Regions from separate parts of the Homo sapiens genome. Here region 2 is linked to region 1. Evidence: promoter capture Hi-C in 16 types of primary human blood cells and fetal thymus (Javierre and others, 2016). All regions are on one chromosome and are shown on one strand. Each heading gives the region's core, a stretch centred on a gene start or on the middle of the fragment in contact. The rest is flanking DNA. Distances are from core to core; before and after follow the strand shown.

Region 1 (6,176 bases), core at 3,677-6,176:
CCTCCAAAAGTGCTGCGATTACAGGCATGAGCCACTGCGCACGGCAAGAGTACATTTTAAATATTCTTACCACAAAATAAAATGATAGATATGGAGGTAATACACATGTTAATTGGTTTGATTTAGCCATTCTACAATGTATACATATTTCAAAACAACATGAACATAATAAGTATATACAATTTTTGTTAATTAGAATACATAAATAAAAATTCAATTTTACTTTTAGATCAAAGATCTAAATAAAATTTAAAAGATATTATTTTTAAAAATGTAAAATATTCATGCTCTTGAGATAGGAACCTCGGAAGTCATAAAAGACAGATTCGACTACAGAACATTTAAAAATACATCATAAGTAATATTAAAAAGTAATAAAAGAGTACAAATCGGGAAAATATGTACAACATTCATAATAGTTAATATCTGTTTTACAATGAGTCCTTAAAGACAAACCATCCAACAGAAATAAATTAAGGTGTAGAAAGGCAATTCAAAAGAAATGTAAATGGCCAACACATATTTGAAAATATGCTAAACTTCATTAATGCTCATTAAAATGCAACTTAAATATATGATATGATATCCTCTTTCATGTAGTTGAGTAACACAAATTAAAGAGACTACTAACACACTGCAATAGAAGTGGAGGAGACATGGCCACCTTCATTCATTGCTGGGGAAATGTGACATCTGTAACTATTAGGGAAAAAAAATCTGCCAGTATCCATCAAAAATTAATCCACTAATCACATTTTTGGGAATCTAGTTTATATATGAAAAAAACCAAAAAGGCTCTAGTATGACAGGATTTGCAAGAATGTTTATTATAGCATTCCCGATAGAGACAAAAGTTGCAAAAACCTCCAAGTGCATCAATAGTAGAATAAACACCATGAAATATCATGCCTTTCTAAAAAGAATGCATGTGATCTGTATGCACTGGCCTCGAGGGATGGCCATGATATACTGCGCATAAAAGCAAATTGTACTTTGATTAGTGAGTCTCATTCCTTGAAAAGAGAAAAAAAATAGACAGTGTTTATGTATCTGTATACATTTGGGCGTAGAAACTGCTTTTAATACTGTTCCTTTAGAAATGGTAAGAGATCGGGGTTAACTATTATTTATCTTTATATAACTTAGTACTGTCTAAGCTGTTTTAAAAAAGGGGTATTTTTCCATTCTTATTACCTTATTTCAAAAATCAGATACTCTAAACTATGATTCAGAGTCAAGTAGAGAGAAGCAGAGAGAGAATGTCATAGTCTGGTGTGCTATTTCTGATTCTACATAAGGAATGTGATAGGTAATAGGATAAATCTTTATAGGTCTTTATGGGAAGAGCGAACTCTAGATAAACTAAACTCTATTAGATAAAAGTGAAATTTCTGGCTTGGCTTAAAAATATACTGTACTTGCAAATAATTTAGGTATTTGTTCAGTCCAGACATTCACACTTTGATAACAAACAGCTATGGGAAACCTAGTAGTAAACCTAGTACTAAAACCCTGTAAAACCTTCAGAGAGAATGGAGAAATACTGTAACTCACATGCCTGCAGCACTTGATAAAACCTCCTAAGAAATCTTAAACAGCAGGAAATTGTTCCTTCAAGAACAAGAACACAAAAATGGGGTCCATTTATCAAAGAAAAGCCTATCTGGTGGCAACTGACTCCAAGTAAATGAAATTCTGCTTTTTCAGGTTATTGAGACAGATCAGAAGTAAAGGAACTTAAAAGGAAACTGCACCCATGGGGAAATAAAGCCACATATAGTTCATGCTTTTACCTTATAGAAAGGGCATTCCAGGACTGAGGCTAAGAAAAGTTGGGTCAGTTGTGCCCGACTCAATGTGTCCAAATGAGATTCTTTACCTGAAACAGAAAGCATCCCAGTCATAGTTACGTCTGAATTGAGGTATGTATGAGAGAACATCATGAACATTCAACATCAATTTACACACTCCAGACAGAAGTATTCTATTTTTAAATGACACTATGAAATGAACTTGTTAGAATTAATTATGCCCTCCTCTTGCCACCAATGAAATTGACTTCCAAGAACCCAAGCTCCTAGCTACAGAATACAATTAAAAGAGATAAAATATGTTCACAGAATTAGTGGAAATTTCCTTTAACTATGGAGTTCCGGAAATTTGACATATTTGGGTGGCCTTGAATTAAGATGAATAATACCATCCTCTCAAAAAAAAAAAAAAAGATACAGTTGCTCACTCATCAAAAGTTCTAACATGTTAATGTGGCTATTTCCACTGCCATTACCATATCTCCTAAGAATGCTGCAATTTCTCAGATAAGGCAAAAGTCAGTTTATCTGAGACAGCTTTCTTCCCTCTACATGATTTCCTAGCATGCTTTAACTGTGTTTATGCCAGCATCTGTTAACTTCAGGTCTCATCTTCGGATCACTATGGAAGAAAAACTAAAGGCAACATATTGCCTTTATATGTGACTTGAAACCACTGCCAGTTCAAAGGTTACTTTTTTCCAACTGTCAGAATTTATAACCAACTCACCTTGCAGCCGTTGAAGGAAAAGAGGCTTGAATATTTTTGCCAGAAAGTTGACTGGATGGCATTCATTAAGTGAACATGAATGAAGAAGTTTCAATAATGATTTGGGTGGAAAATAATTGAAATGAGTGAATAGCACGTTTTCCAGCTTTCTAAATAAAGCAGAGGCATTTGGTGGCAAATAATTGAGTTTCCCAAATGGTTCCATTAAGGCAGAAATCTGACGAGGTGAAAATTTTTCTGTTTGGCAAACAAAAGTTTCTGCCACTGCATTGAGGATGGGTTTTGAAAGAATCAGTTCTCTACTGCAGTACTCCATGACCCTGCAGACAACTTCAGGATCCAACGTGAGGCACACCGCAGCTACACGATGCTCTAGGGCTTTTGTAAAAAATGTGTCATGGTGCCCAAAATATATGAACGCCTCCAAGACTCTCCTAAGCTCCTCGTTAGTGAAATGTGGGACATGCCTCACGACATATTTGCCCAATTTTATAATCAGAGGAAATGCTTGACTTTGATCAAGAACCACCAGGGCAGTGAGCATTTGGCTAATCAATTTAGGACTCAGGTTGGAAACTATTGATAGGGAAAAGTTGTTTATCTTATTTAAAAATGTTTGGTGTTCATCCACTTTTTCAGTACATGCCTGCAAGATTCTATAAAGGGCCACAATATCCTCCGGGGTAAATGTTTCCAATTTTTCACCTTGAAGTTGATTTATAATGAGTTCTAGTGTCACACAACCTGAACTGTGCAGTGTAATCAGACTTTCCCCAAGAATACAAAGATTGCGAACTTCCATGCCACCTTTTCTGAGACGATTTTGGCATTCTGCCACCAGGTTCAGCAACAGGCTACTTTGAGGATCCACATGCAACAGAATCAGAGCTTGCAAAGCAGTCACTAAACTAGTGTTTGACAGCTGTGAGGGCTCCTTTTCAAACTGAAAGCATAAAGCTTGAAAGATGCTATTCTCCAGTATTTCTTTTGGCAGCCCTTGATCACCATCCTTTTTTTCCACTTCACAAATTCGTTGTAAAGCTCCTGCTGCCATAGTGTCAGGCAGGGTTTCCATCGTGCTTATAAAACTTAGCACTTCTTCTGATGAAGTCAAGTTGCTCAGTCTCCTGTAAAACATCTGACTCTCCTCATTTTTAACATTTTGTTCAAGCCTGTCGCAGTCAGATACTTGAGAGAACACTGGTCCACCGAGTGGATGAAGGTCATTTCCATTTTTCGAATGAAACTTTTTACAATGGGCATGATGGAATTTGACCCCGAAAGGCTCAGGTTGTCGTGAACACAACCAAGGGCACAGACGCTCCTTGACTACCTTGTGAACATGATTTAGAGGTTTATTTTTTAAAGCAGCCAGAGCTCTATGCATCTGAAAATCAGATAAACGATAAAGGTTCTTCCTCAAGGTGATTAATGCCATACCATCAGATTCTCAATTTGATAACTAAATTAAAAAATTTAAAAACACATGGTTAAATACATTGAGAACATGATTGACCCAACATCAATGTTTATGAAACTACAAACGAGTATCTGGAAAAAAAAAAAAAAAAAAAAAAAGGATGGTTAACATATAAACACCAGAGGGGCAAAGTCTCTGCATCCTAGAGTTAGAAGAGTGGCTGACATTGAACAATAACAATCGCTATTACTTGCTAAACACTGTTGTAGGTATTCTATTAACTTACACAGATTCAGTACTTTTACTATCATTTTACACGAGGAAGAAGTTGAAGCACAAAGTTACTTTGCCCAGTTTATGCAGGTGGTTAAGTGGCAGAGCTAGGGTTCAAACTCAGGCAATGTAGCTCTTAAGGGTGGCCCTTAAATGTTGGTTGAAGGAAGAAATTGCATTTGGATAGAAATCAAAGAACAGGTAAAGTGGGCAAAATTAGGCGAGGTTAGAGCAAGGCAAGGGTAAAAACGCGCTGGAAAGGCCCTAAGCTGTTGGTTTCCCCTCGGTGTCGGGAGAAGGTTAGTGTTGAAGGAAAGGGTCTACTTTGTCAATGGAAACAAGGTAGGAAAAGAAAAAGCAAAACATAGATCAATGAAGGGAGAAGGTGGGGCGGCCAGTCCAGATCTAAAGACGGTGCGGGGGGATTTGGCAACACGTGTGTGCAAGACAGACAGACGGGAGGCCCCGCGGCGCGTTTTCCTAGGAATGAAAGGGACCCGCGGGGCGAGCACCCCCAAACTCGGCGCCCCGGGGACCTGCGCTGAGACACGGGCCGGGCGGCGCAGCCTGAGGAGAAAGCCGGCCAGGTCTTTGACACCCAGCCGGACCAACTGCGCGGAGACCCCGCGTTGACACCTACCGCGCTCTGCCGGGCAATCACTCCGGGTGGTCGCGGAAGCGCCTGGGCGTCGTGGGCCTCCGTAGCAAACGCGGGGCGGGAGCACGACTCAGGGCGGCGCAATGTGATTGGCCCAGGTCCCCTTCGGAGCTTTCTATTGGTCCTGGGTACCGAGCATGGGCGCTGCGTCAGTGCGCGCTGGCGCAAGGTTGGTGGAAGTCGCGTTGTGCAGGTTCGTGCCCGGCTGGCGCGGCGTGGGTAAGCTGCCTGTCGGCTACGGTTCCCGGATTCCGGCCGCTCGCCCTGCACTAATCTCCTGGGAGAGGCGGCCCGGGGCGGGGGTGGGCAGCCGGCTTGCGCCCGTGGTTCCCACGCCCTTCGGCCTCCGGGGGTCGCCGCGGGCGCGGGCTGGGGCTCGGACTTGGCCTTTGGCCTTTGGCTTTGGTGTCCCCGGGAGCGTGTCCTTGGGCTCGGCGTCGGCCTCTGCCGCGGGAGGCCCCTGGGCGGCGTGGGGTCTCTCCTCATGTTCTGCCTTTGGTTCTAGGCGCTTTCCAGGCCTAGGGAAACCGCACTCGGGGACGCGGGGAACTGGGGAACATGCCGGGTTGGGGCGGCGCGCTCCGGGGAACCCGGGACGTTCCGAGCGCCCACCCGGCGGGACGCGGCCGTGAGTTCTGCCCGCGGCCGTGAGCTCTGCCCACCGCCTCCGCGCCGCTTCCGGGGCTGCTGGGGCCCGGGCCTCCGCTGAGAGTCGTGGGAAGGTGGTGCCGGATTGTGGGGCAGTAGCAGGGATGAGGGGTTGATTGATCCTGGGAAGCCCTCAGGATGTGTGTTTCATGGGAAGTGATAGAAATTTTAGCTGTAGTAAGGTTTTCATTATCGTTTCCACCGTTTTCTGTGAGCTGTCAATGTGTAGTGTTTTCATATTGTTTATTCACTCATTCAGATAACTTATCGAGTACCAGTTTCATGCCAGGTGCCGTTCTGGGCGGTTCATTCACCGAAAGCCAAGCTTTTGGTTTGGGTTTCAGTTTAAATCTGTCTCTGCAAATTGACAGCCCACCAATTTTAGCCGTTAGATGAGTATGGAAAAAAATCTGTGAGTGTCGTTTGTTTTACTACTGCTTATCTCTTGCGGAAAAACGTGTTAGTAAAATGTTTAAGTGGATTGGAAATATTTTTTCGTTATATGCACCCGTTTGTATATATGCCCATACACTCACATATTTTTGATTTGCATTAAATAATGAAGGAGAGTATGTGCTTCAGTTACCTTTAGTACTATGATTAGTTTGTTTAGCGTTAGGATCAAATAAGAACCAA
Region 2 (6,797 bases), core at 1-2,500, 6.1 Mb before region 1:
TGATATGAAGTGACTTTCAGAATTAGGCCGTAAAAGTCACACATGGTCTTTTTGTTTTTTTCCAGGTTTATGATGATAAAGACTACAGGAGAATTCGGTTTGTAGGTCGTCAGAAAGAGGTGAGTAAAAAATCTAGTGAAGAGAGGTAAGCTTTCCTAAAACTTTTATGTAACCAACAAGAAATAAAAATTAATATATAAGATTTAAATAAATTTTCCCCATATTGCAAGCACCCTAACAGTTCTGGATGGGGTTCTTCCTTTCTTAAAATCTTAATTGTGTCTATTTCTGACTTGTTTCCCCCTGAAATACATAACATTGTAGCCGTAGTTCTGGTTTGCATATAAATGGAAGTGATCTTTTTTAAAATTCTTGTCCCTTATTCTCCTGAGACTCTCAGATTTAAGTAAATCATATCAACTTTAAAAAAATTATTCTTTTAACCACCTGGAGGTGTGTTTTTTATAGTTTTCACCAAATAAATTAGTGTGTGTTTTTTACAGGGACTTACACTGACAAGCTGAAAATGGCACATGAGTTTTTCTTCCCTTAGTGGGTCTGTTAGCTCTATGCATTGTAAGGGAAGATCAGTTCAGGTGCCTGTGAGTGACCACTGGAGAAAGAATGTTGAAATTAGAATCCTTCTGCCTAAATCAGCCTATTTTTTTTTTTTACCTGACTCCTTCTCTATCACTCATGTCAATGAGCTCCTGAATTCGTAATTAGATCAGGCATGCCTCCATGATTCCTGAATTTGCTTCCTGAAGGATGCTGTGAAGTGTCCTTCACAGCCACCTTATTCATTCTTTTTCCCACTTTGGTTAGCCTGGTGTTCTTCTTGTTAACACCGTAGCTATCCCTAAATCATGTATTTTCCCTTCTCCTTCAATCTTGGTTACGTTATCCATTCCCAGTGTGTAGTTTTTGTACGTCTATTCCAGAGCTACAGGGCATTCCAGAAAAGCTCACATGATCATGAATTGACTATAAATTCACATTCTCAAAATTCAGCTGGTTCACTGTTGTGTGGTTTGATGGGTGGGTGTCAGAAAAGTTTGTTTTATAGTGGTTGATTATTTGGCAATGCCACTTGAGTGTTGGGTTGAGAAAGATCCTGAGGCCTGATGCACATTCAGTGGAAGAGTGTGCCATGATTGATTAGTGATGTCTACCAGGATCATGGTGGTGGAGAGGGGCTTGTGTCTGGTGGGTTTGCCTCTCGGAGTAGAAGCTGTGTGGACTTGCAGTCTAAAAATTGTGAGGTTGAATCACAGCATGGGTTCAGTTTTCTCATTTGTGAAATGGAACCATGTGAATATTTTTAATTGAATCATAAGTCTCCAGTGATATCACACTGTCAGTTGTCGAGTAAGTGGTGTATAGGGTAAGTGCTCTTTCTCTCCATCCTCAGAAACCCTTTTCTGTTTGTTGTTTGAATTGTTAGTGTATTCCCAGTAGAAGCATCTGTTCCATGTGCCACATTCTCCAATGCTGTATCCCAGTGATTCACACAAAGGAGCTCATGGCATTGCGAATGGGACATTTCTTCCGTGTGCAGGCTGTCCTGGGCATTCTTGTTAGGTATATGAACTTGACATTTGGAAGGTGGAAACCGATGGATGTTGAAAGGATTTGCAGGCCCTTTGGTTTCTTTTGGCAGTGATCGTGGAGAAGGGGAGGTTTCTCTTAGTGTGGATGCGGTATGGTTTCTTTTAGTGGTGACCGTGGAGAAGGGGAGAAACCGATGGATGTGGGGAGGGTTCGCAGGCCCTTTGGTTTCTTTTGGCAGTGACCGTGGTGACGGAGGTTTCCTGGGCATCGATGGGTGGTTGTTACTGAGGTAGTGGCTGGACTCTACATCCTTGCTTTGTGGGTGTTATGGCACGGTCGTGGGGGCAAGGTAGGAGCCCCAGATTGAGCAGTTCTGGAGCAGATTGGTCCTGAAGCCCTTGGGCTCATTCATGCAATCTGGCTTCCAGCCCAGCTCCCTATCTCAGCTCTTGTAGTGACGAAGCAAGTATGTGGGTCCCTGTCACAAACGCCTCTCTGCTGAACATTCTTTGTGTAGCTTCTGGTTTCTGGTTGGTGTAGCATAGGGTAGTGGGAAACAACTTAAACCAAACAGAATCAGGATTGGCGAAGCCAGTGAGGGGTGGGTACGGGATAGTGTGATAGTAGTGTCTGTGACCGGCAGCTCACCCAGGGCGTCCTGGTTGTGACCTCAACGCTCCAGCCGGCCTAGCCTCCAGTGCCTTCCCCCATTCAGCATCCTGAGTGTCCAGGGCACGTCTTGGCCTCACACCTTGGAGGTTCAAGGCATGTTGATAACATGATGAGTGGGCATCCTGCCCAAGCTTTCCTTCTTTCAACACAAATTTGGTGTTTAGTACTATTTTTAGTAGTAGTTGTTTGGCTTCTGAGAGACTTAATTTTTTGGAACACTTTTAGATTTACAGAAAAACTGAAGAAAGTAGGGTTTTCACAGCCCCCCAGCTCAGTTTCTGCTGTTTACTGCCATCTCTCATTAGTGTGCTGCCTGTGTCACAGTTGATGAGCTGATACTCATACATTATTACTAACTCAAGTCCACAGGTTCACTCTTAATGTTGTATGTTCTAGGGTTTGGATAGATGTGTAATGACATGTATTCACTGTGACAGTGTTGTACCGAGTTCACTGCCCTAAAAATCCTCTGTGCTCTGCCTGTTCATCCCTCCCTCTGCCCAACCCCTGGCAGCCCCTGATCGTACTGTCCTCTAGTTTTGTCAAGTAATACTTTAAGAAGTAAACTGGGCCAGGCACAGTAGGCTTATGCCTGTCATCCCAACACTTCGGGAGGCCAAGGTGGGCTGATCACTTGAGCCCAGGCGTTCAAGACCAGCCTGGGCAATATGGTGAAACCCTGTGTCTACAAAAAATATAAAAATTAGCCTAGCATGGTGGCACATGCCTGTAGCTCAAGCAACGTGGGAGGCTGAGGTGGGAGGGTCATTGAGTCTGGGAGGTTGAGGCTGCAGGGAGCTGAGATCATGCCATTGTACTCCAGCCTGGGCAACAGAGCAAGACTCTATCTCCAGAAAAAAAAGAAAAAAATAAACTGAATCTGAACTTCACCTGTAGAACAAGCATAGCAGGAAGCTAGATAATTGAGCTGGTCTTTGCAGAAAAACAGTGGAAAGTATCTTTGTGTGGCTCCTGCCCAGCTTTGACCGGGGGTACCTTCAAAGGAATCCATGGCCCCTGGGCCTGTGACGGGCCTGCCTGTGAGGAGACTCCTCACGTGCTAAAGAATGTGCCAGCCACCCCCAGCCAGAAGTCAGGCCTCACATGGTCCTGGAGCAGGTGGCACTCTGGGGCCACATAAGTCAGATGGGGGACTGGAACAAACTTGGAAGTGACCAGGTATTTCTCTGCTGTTGATGGAAATATTTTCATTGCTTTATAGTCGTACAAGTAAAATTAAAAGCAGATATGACTTGTCCCCTAATAGAAGGGATGACTGGGGGAGGTCTGCAGTGAGGTGTGGTAATAATAACAGCAATAACAACAGCCTGGTAGCCAGGTACTTGGCGACATCATTTGCTTTTTTGGTTAGTAGCTGGGGCTGCCCTGCCTGGCCGCATCCGGATTCAGGCTCCTGCGCTGATGGGCTTATGAGGGCTGTGTGCTTCAGTGACTTAGCTTGTAGGCTCGTGGGCACTGAGTCCGTGTAGATGAGGAAAGGCTTGGAGCAGCGCCTGTCCCAGGGAAGCCTCTAGTGTGTGTTCGCCTTACTCTGCTGCTGCCTTCGCCACCACCATGAGGGCAGGCTTCACTTTTAGATTTTTTTAAAATACTGAAGTTAAACGTTAGTGTCTATACACAAGGTCTTTACTTTTAGTTTTTGAAAAGAAGGAATTAGGCAGCAAACCCGGAACATCAGGAGGCTGGGATCCCTTGAGTGCGACTCTGTGCCACCCCTCTCCACCTGTGTGTGTCAGGATCACGGAACAGCTGGGGGCTTCAGCTTGTGCCTTCATCTGCCCGCCAGTGGGATGGATTCTCTCCTCAGATGCTCGGCAGGGCGGAGTCACTCCCTGACCCGCACAGCCCACAGCTGGGCGTTTGGGTCAGCGAGATTCTGCACGTTTTCTGAGACACCTAGGCTGGCAGGGTTGAGTCCAGTTGTGACCCTGTGGCCTCACCTGCCTGGCCCTCAGTTCTTCAGTAGCAGACTTCAAGGTGCGTGGTGCCACCAGGATTAGGAGCAGTTGCACGCGGTGCAAATGTCTACCTGGCGTGCTGTTTTGTTGCGATAATGTGAAGTTTTATCCTTCTGAGAAGAGTGTGTAGATTTCGTTAATGGAAATAATTGAGTAGTGCTCACGAGAGAGGAAAACTACCAAGACCCTCCAAACAGAAAACAAGCGTGGGTGACGGCGTGGAGCAACTGAAACTTTGTGCCTTGCTGCTGGGAATGTAAAATGGCACAGCCGTGAAGGAAAACAGCGTGTGGGTTCCTCAAAAAGTTGAAACTAGGACTTCCATCCAATCCAGCGGTTCCACTTCTGAGCGTGTGCCCAAAAGAACTGAAAGCGGGGTCCGGGGTACACTCGTGTCATAGCAGCATTATTCATTATAACTCAAATCTGGAAGCAGTTTGGGGGTCCATTGTCAGCTGAACGGATAAGCAAAATGTGATCTGTCCATGGACAGTGGAATATTATTCAGCCTTAAGGAAGAACGCTTGACACGCCCCACAACACGGATAAGCCTGGAGGACGTTGCGCTCAGTGAAGTGAGCCAGTCACAGAAGCAGACTGCGTGATTCCTCTAACACGAGGGACCAGAACAGTCGCTTCTTAGAAGTACTGTATGAGGTACTCAGAGGTACTGCGTGAGGTACTCAGAGGTACTGCGTGAGGTACTCAGAGGTACTGCGTGAGGTACTCAGAGGTACTGTGTGAACACTGTGTGATTCCTCTGATACGGGGGACCAGAACAGTCGCTTCTTAGAGGTAGCAAGTAGTTGGTGGTTGCCGGGGGCGGGGGGTGAATTTGGAGTTAGTGTTGAATGGAAATGGAGTTTCAGTTTACGAAGGTGGAAGGTTCTGGAGATGGGTGGTGGTGATGGTTGCACAATAATGTGAATATACGTGGTGTCCTTAGAAATGGTAAAGATGGCAAGTTTTATGTTATGTGTATTTTACCACAATTAAAAAAAAATTAAGAGGGAAGTGGCTTCAGGCCCACGCAGGAATTGACCAGAGGTTCCTCCCTGAGGCTTCTGTGGCTGGTGTCGCTCATTCTTATTTCTCCCAAGAGGCCGGCAGGGCAGGGCACACTCGGGTGGGGAAGCAAGTGAGGCTGAGGCTGGGCCCACGCGGCACCTCCAGAGGCTCTGCACACCCGTGGTGGTAACTTGTGTTATCACCCAGGACAAGCGCACTCCTCGGATCAGCAGTGGAAGAAACTTGTGACATCTTTCGTCTACATTGAGCCATCTCTTGAGGCCAGCGCAGCACCACCCGAACCATGTTGGCTCTCGTGCGTGCACACACACACTGTTGGTCACAGGAGGGATGCCACCAGAGAGCTGAGAGGGAGTGCTGAGGTACCCAGGGGTCAGTAGCTGCAGGAAGCAGCCACTATTCCTAGGACTTGGGGGGCAGGAGGAAGAGGTGGCGTCACCAGGAGGGAGCTGTGAAAGTGCCCTTGTGGTGCCGCTGGAGCTCCAGGTGGGAGACAGGACTGGGAGTCGGGGATGGGTGCTAGGGTGAGGCCCCCAGCCAGACAGTGGTGGCTGAGAAGGTCCTCCGTGAGAGGAAGATTGAATTGAGGGGCCTCGGAATTCCACCCTCCGCCTTTGCAGGTCATCTGGTTGGTGGCAGAGGTGGAGCTCTGTGCTTGCTTCCAGGTTCATCCTTAGAGGGTTTAAGAGGGGAGGTTTGCCTGAGTCTCTCTTGTCTTGAAGCAACCTGGGCGTCCTTTAGGGGGTGTTTGAGACGCGGGCGGTGCGATGTGCGCCATGGCTGCTCTCCAGAGCTTTTGTGTGGCTTCCCGCTTCTGCATGCTCCTCCTCCTGAGCTTCCCTCCCAAATACGCCATCTTTATAGTGGAGTGAAGGCAATCGGATTTTAAAAGAAATCTTCTGGATGGATAAGAACCGTGGGTCTTTGCTTCCTTTAGAAAGGCTTGGACTGTCAGAAATAATGGTTATAAAGTGAGGTTTATTTATCCCAGGACCCAGAGGAAAATAGTTGGAACTGTGAATTCACGAGCCCCAGGTTCACATGCTGGTGGCTTTGTTTGTGAGCTGGCGAGATGGGCTTTATTTCCTCCCTCATGCAGCTCCCCAGCTTCGTCTTTGCTTCTCTATTGTGTCTTTGTGTCTTGTGGTTCTTTCTCTTCCAAGGCACTGGCAAAATTAGTCACTGGATTCCAACATTCTCAAAGCAAGTTTGAACATGTTGTACAGACAGCTCAATTGTGGTTTTTAGAGCATTTTCTATAAAGTTACTTAGTTTAAAAATTAATTTGAATGAAAACTTCAGTTTTGCCTGTGATTTAAGAATTATATACTTATATAGACATGTATACACACGTTTAGCTTAAATAATTATTGGCATTCATGTTCAGAATGCCTGATGTTCTAAATAATTGAACTGAGCTTTTACTTTATTTTAAACTTTTATTTTAAATGTCCATGAATGGGGTCGGTATTCTACAGTGTCGATGATCCAGCTGGTGGACTTTTCCCTTCTGCGTTGGTTTTGATGCTGTGTCACAGAATCACATATTTTATGTTTTATCTTTAA

Evidence for each region. The method cuts DNA at HindIII sites, captures the fragments that hold promoters and counts their contacts. A CHiCAGO score of 5 or more calls a contact.
Region 2: a contact is called between a fragment that was not itself captured here and the fragment with the promoter of FASTKD3 in region 1, in 1 of 17 cell types (fetal thymus). The highest score is 6.1, in fetal thymus.

What each region holds. Positions count from the first base shown.
Region 1 is chr5:7,864,105-7,870,280 of GRCh38, forward strand. FASTKD3 (FAST kinase domains 3) reads right to left here and starts at 4,927. Exons shown (of 7, transcript NM_024091.4): 1 at 4,875-4,927; 2 at 2,542-4,092; 3 at 1,794-1,879. The coding sequence starts at 3,979. It overlaps MTRR (5-methyltetrahydrofolate-homocysteine methyltransferase reductase), which reads left to right and starts at 5,044. Exons shown (of 15, transcript NM_002454.3): 1 at 5,044-5,111. RefSeq lists silencers at 4,937-5,376, 5,387-5,436, 5,497-5,546. The HindIII fragment of the contact is 2,367 bases long and covers 3,497-5,863 here.
Region 2 is chr5:1,802,256-1,809,052 of GRCh38, forward strand. NDUFS6 (NADH:ubiquinone oxidoreductase subunit S6) reads left to right here. Exons shown (of 4, transcript NM_004553.6): 2 at 66-119. Among named protein-coding and RNA genes, the nearest start is that of NDUFS6, 4.2 kb to the left of the region's middle. The HindIII fragment of the contact is 2,204 bases long and covers 149-2,352 here.